Regions from separate parts of the Homo sapiens genome. Here region 2 is linked to region 1. Evidence: promoter capture Hi-C in 16 types of primary human blood cells and fetal thymus (Javierre and others, 2016). All regions are on one chromosome and are shown on one strand. Each heading gives the region's core, a stretch centred on a gene start or on the middle of the fragment in contact. The rest is flanking DNA. Distances are from core to core; before and after follow the strand shown.

Region 1 (2,760 bases), core at 52-2,551:
CCCGGTCTAATCATATTTTTTAAATTGGGCAGGAGGTATATGATAGTGTTTGTACAACTTCAGCAAATGATGACTACTTTAAAAATCTTACGTGCGCCTCCGTCTTCCATCGTTATGTATCCTGCCATTTGACTTATTTTCTCACTTCACCAAGTATTGTTCTAGGCCCTGTATAAAGCCTGTGAGTTCATAAAGTTGTTACCAAATAAATGATACAACTTTACACAATGATGTGCTATGAAACAAACAATAGCAGACACACATATTAACAGAATTTACTATGTGCCAAGCACTGTTTTGAACACCTTAGTAAAAATAAACAAAGGTTAAATCCTCATAAAAGCCCTAGATTATTTTTACCCCCATGTTGTAGACGGGGAAGCAGTCACAGCAAAGCCAGGTACTCTGGCCAAGGGCAAAGCTGGGGTCTGAACCCAGGCCGTCCACATTTATCCATGGTGCTGTGTGGTTAGAGGCCATAGGCAGCAGGGGCCCTTGTGGTGACCCCTGCGCGTTGTCTCAGCGCAGAGGAGGAAGTGGCGGCAGGCAGCCGCGCTCCCAGATGAAGCGGGGCCAGAAGAGTCTGGGGAACAAGACCTGAGAGGTGGGAAGGGTTGAGGCCACCGGTTTGGAGCCGTCAGGTACCCTAAGGGATATATGAGGGACCCCGGGGCTAAAGCAGCCTCTGGAAGAGAGTGGCCGCCCTGTCACTTCAGCACCAGGCGCAGAATCTGTGCTAAACCTGAGGTGAGGGTAAGGAACCCCCGACACCGCACGACAACCAGAAAGAACGTCCCTGGAGGGGAGGCTTCGATCAAAGCCTGGGACGCAGGGGTCTTTCTGCAGGGGACGCCGCTCTCGGCTCTACCCTGCTGTGGTGGGCCGGCTCTGGGAGGGCTGGCTTCCGACCATCTCCCGACCTCCCGCGCCCACCGCGCCGCGCCGCGCGCCTCCCAGGCTGGGAACCGCCGGGGCGAAGCGGCAGGTGGCGCGGGTTCACCTGGCAGGGCAGGCGCCCGGGGTCCGCCGGGGAAGGACGAGGGGAAGGGGTGCGCGGACTCAGGGGCAGGCAGCGGAGGGGAGGGGCCTGGGGATCTGGGACGGTGTAAGGGTGCTGCACTTGCGCGCGAAGGGAGGGGTGGCGACGAGTCCGCGGCCGCCTCTCCGCGTCCCCCTTCCACCACCCGGGGACCACCGCCTCTGACCGCAGCCTGGGGGCCCTAAAGAGGCCTCGGGTCTCACCTCCCGACGCCGTCGGGGAGAAACCGGGGAACTGCCAGCTGCGCAACAACTTCCGGTTCTGGTGGCGGGTCGGGGCGGGGCCCGGAACGCGGGGACGTTGCCATGGAGAAGAGCCGCTGTGGCCGCGCACTTGGGACAGGGAAAGAGAACCGGGAGGCTCGACCGGTGGGAATCCAGCTGCTCTGCTCAGTGTTCCGTTCAATAAACTAGCATTGTTGCTTCGCAAAGTGCTTTTGCTTACATTATTCATTTACTCCGGTAACTCAGTAAGGTTATTCCCATTTTACAGAAAATAAACTCAAATGTCCTGTGACTTGCCAAGGATTACAGAGAGGGGCGAATGCTGTGCTGTCTACCGCTGAGTACAATCCCTAATACCATTCCCACTCCCGAAGTGGTTACACCCCAAGTACTGACGTTTTAAGGGACAAGTTTGACATCCGCAACCCCATGCTTTCACAGGAGAACACAATGGCCCTTGAAAAAGTGAGAACTGACCCACATAAAATTTGTTACAATACATACACATATCTCTCCTCAGATAATCTTAATCTCAATTGAAAAATAAGTTTGAGGCCGGGCGCGGTGGCTCATGCCTGTAATCCCAGCACTTTGGGAGGTCGAGATGGGCAGATCACATGAGCCAAGGAGTTCGAGACCAGCCTGGCCAACATGGCTAAACCGCATCTCTACAAAACATACAGAAATTAGCCGAGTGTAGAGACGCATGCCTGTAGTCCCCGCTTCTTGGGAGGCTGAGGGGTGAGGATCACCTCAATCTGGGGAGGTGGAGACTGCAGTTAGCCATGATTGCGCCACTGCCCTCCAGCCTGGGCTGCAAAGTGAGAGCGTCTCAAAAAATAAATAAATAAATAAATTTAAGCCTAAATGCACCACAGCCCCACCTCGTGACTTCCTTCTCTAGCCCCTTTCCCTAGGGACTCCTGGAAAATGTACTTGTACTCGTAACTGAGGAATTAGGGAGAGGACGGAGATGCTTGAAAAGCACTTGCTAATTAATAAAGAACAATAACAAAAAATCCCTTTTGGTATGACGCCGCCCCAAAAGTATGTTAGTACTGGAATCTGAAGTGAAGAAAGAAGAGGCTGGTTTACTCAGTTTATGACGCTAGGGGACTAGGGAGAGGTTTGGATCCCAATTAGAGTACAGTAAAACTAAATCTGAAGAAATTCTTGCTTCAAACAAGGGGCTTTCACAGGATAAGACTTTTTGCTGATGCAGCTGCCAACACAAATAGCAAACAGCCCAAAAGTGCAGGTGGGAATGTGTTTCTGGCGCTGGTGGGTAGGGTAGGTTAAATGACTCACGTCAGGGGAGAATTTGAAACGAGGGCAAGGCTTGGCAGTGGTGTGAAGTCACAGGAGACAATTTAAGGAGAATATGAACGACAGTCAGAAGCTTCAAGGAGAAGGAGGAACTGTGGGATGTGGCAAGAGGTCAGGGATGATGAATTCATGGGTATGGTCCACCAAACAGCCAGATATCAGAGGCCAAAG
Region 2 (3,033 bases), core at 345-2,844, 920 kb after region 1:
TTGTAGCCATCTTTGCCAACAAAACTGCCACACCAAGACAAGTGCTAGGACAATGATTTAAGATTGTTTGAGACATAAAATTTTTCAAAACTTCATCCTTTCTCAGAAAGCTACTGTAGTATGTACTAACAAAAAATGCGAGTGTAAACTAAGAAATAATAAGATAAGTGAGCTGGGAACCAGGGGCACCTGCAGAAGAGAAAAGTCAAGAAAATATCCAGGAGGATAGGGCTGAGGGAGCCACATTTCAAATTGGAGCAGGAGGATGGAATAGAACTGAAAGCTTATTTGACAATATTGAGAGAGGCATTTGTAGGACTGTTGCAGGATATGAGATGATTTAGCCAGCTGTTCAAGAAAAAATAATAATCAAATGAAAAAAATTGAGGCAAACATTAACTTGAGGAAAAACAAAAAGTTGTACAAGAAAGGGCATGTAATCCTGTACACAACTTGGCACAGACAGGAACAATATTAACATCATAAATTTTAAAATCACTGCATAAGAATTTGACTAACATTGTGACAGAACAATATTGGAAAAGGAAATGGACTATAAAGAAGCTAAAACCCTCCGCATGACAGAAGGTCAGTGTATTATCTAAAATTGATAGCTCAAAGTACAGCAGTGTACTCACACTATTTAGAAACGAGTGGCTCTGGAAAGTGTGTATGTTAAGAAGGGGTGTTGTAAACTAGGGTCAGATGTCTGTTTCTGATATCTTGTTATAACTTTTTATTACTCTTGGCCTTTTAAATTAAGATAAATCATTACATTACTAAAAAGAAATAATTTAAAAATTAGGCTGAGAAAAAAATTGGCTGTTAGAGGAAAAAATATTAGTAATTAGTAAATTTTTGCCAAGGCAAAAATCCTTAAAAGAATTAAGGATAGCCTATATAATTAAAAAGTCTGAAGGTTTCATTTTAGGTGCCAGTCACTGAAGTTTTCAGATTAAAATTTAATAAGGCAAATTCCAATCCTGAAAATCTTATAGTTAGTGGAGTAGGCATATACAAGCATACATTTACAATGTAACATGAAAAGTGCTACAGTAAGGGCATATGTAATTTGAGACCACAGAAGAAAGACAGACAATCCTTGTTTGGGGTAGAGTTGGAGATGTCTCTCCAGAAGAGTTGACATTAGAAATGAGAATTGAAGGATAAGTGGGTTCAGCTGACTGACTAGATAGGCAAGAGCATTCTAGGTTTAGATGCTCACCATGAGAAAGCTCAGCATGTCTGGGAAAGAGTAATAAGTTTGGCATGGCTTGAAAGCAGGCTGTGAAGCTGGGAATGACCAACCATATGCCTGGAGTGGTAGACTGAGGCAGGTCTTAGAGGGCTTTGTGAGTTGTGCTAAGGGGTTTGGAATGTAAGGATTTTACCCTGTGGTGTAATATGTCAAACACACATCTTAGAATGATCACTGGCTCTGGGGAAGCCAGTGGAAGACCAAATGCAGGATGCAAGTCTGGGGAAGTCATTAGAAGACTAGCATAGAAAGTGAGGGCTAGAGAGAAGGGAAGAATTGAGAAATATTTTAGAGGCTGATTCAGTAACAAGTCATAGTGACCAACGCAAGATGCAGGAGTCAAAGATGACTTTGATGTTGATACATTCATTAGACATTTATTGTGTGTCTTCTCTGTGGTAGGCGTAGAGTTGAATATGGCATGGTTGTTGCCCAGAGGAGCTTTTTCTTTAGTGACAACACAGACAATAAATTAACAGTAACCATAGCTCTGGTGTTCTATGCTCCAAGGGCTTGGAGAGCATTGGAATCAGCAGACAGGCAGGTAAAGCAGTCTGGCAGACGGCAACCTTGTGGAAGAGTTTCTGGATGGGCAGCCAGGTTGGGGTGTTGGGTTGAATGTGTAATTGAGTATGATGTGGTAACCAGGATAGGGATGTTTAGTTGCCCAGTGAAAATCAGAGCCTAGAAGGGAGGAGAGGGACTCCTCTGTGAGTATAGAGTTGGATGCATGCAGGTTGAGGACGGTTGAAGCCAGGAAAATCTAGAGGAAATGTGAACAGGACCAAGAGGAGGATGAAGCCCAGAAAGACTTGAGAAGGAGCTGTCAAAGGAGGAGGAGAACCTACAGTGGGTAGAGCTATTGAGCTGAGGGGGTAAGAGTCTGAGAAAAGAATCTTCCATGGTGCCATGGTGACAGATGCTGCCAAGAAAGTGGGTAGCAGGGCCAAGGTGTCCTCCAGGTAAGAAAATTAGGCTGGCATTGATGATCTTAGAATGGCAGGAAGGGGTTTCCTTCCAGATGTCATGGGGTATGGAGAAAAGGTGATGAGGATGCTAAGAAATGAATATGGCTCTCTCTCAGAAGTTGGTTAGGAAGTGATGATGAGATAAGCCAGGGAGCTAGAGTGAGAAGTGGGCTTCATAAAGATGCAGCTTTTAAGATGGAAAACACTTGAGTATTTATTCTCATTAGGATTGAGTACATAACTTATGGGGCCCAGTGCACAACTAAAATGCCGGGACTCCTTAAAAAAGTATTTAAAAAATTCAAGACAACAACAGCTAAACATTAAACCAATTTGGGACCCTTTAAAGTGCAGAGCCCTGTGTGGCTTCAAGAGTTGCACATCAGGAAGCAGGCCCTGGTTCTCAGGGTAAGGGGCCAGGGGAGGAAGGTGGAAGTGAGTGGATCAGTGATAGAGCCCCAGGCAAGAGCAAGTGGGATGAAAGGGACCCAGGGTCCAGGTGGGGGCAGAGCCTTGAATGGGAGGAAAAGTATGACTTTGGTCACCTTCTGAGAAGTGGGAGATGGAAGATGGAGAGGAGATGGAAAATAAGATGAAAGATGAAGAGGAGAGGGTGCTAGAAGTCATTCTGGAGAAATTATTTACCTTATTGACTAATTTCTGAGTCGAGGAAAGGGGCAGAAGCTTGCAGCAGCATCAGTGGAGTAAGAGGCTGAGGGGCTTTGGGGTGGAAGTGGGGCACTGAGTGGTCCCACTAGCAGCAGGCACTTGGTAGATGGGGCAGAAGCAAGCCAGGTACCCAAAGGA

The links. The method cuts DNA at HindIII sites, captures the fragments that hold promoters and counts their contacts. A CHiCAGO score of 5 or more calls a contact.
Region 2: a contact is called between a fragment that was not itself captured here and the fragment with the promoter of ZNF396 in region 1, in 1 of 17 cell types (total B cells). The highest score is 6.5, in total B cells.

The regions. Positions count from the first base shown.
Region 1 is chr18:35,376,036-35,378,795 of GRCh38, forward strand. ZNF396 (zinc finger protein 396) reads right to left here and starts at 1,302. Exons shown (of 4, transcript NM_001322286.2): 1 at 1,243-1,302. RefSeq lists silencers at 818-1,007, 1,018-1,087. The HindIII fragment of the contact is 6,702 bases long and covers 1-2,660 here.
Region 2 is chr18:36,292,771-36,295,803 of GRCh38, forward strand. No RefSeq gene overlaps it. Among named protein-coding and RNA genes, the nearest start is that of FHOD3, 3.4 kb to the right of the region's middle. The HindIII fragment of the contact is 2,627 bases long and covers 282-2,908 here.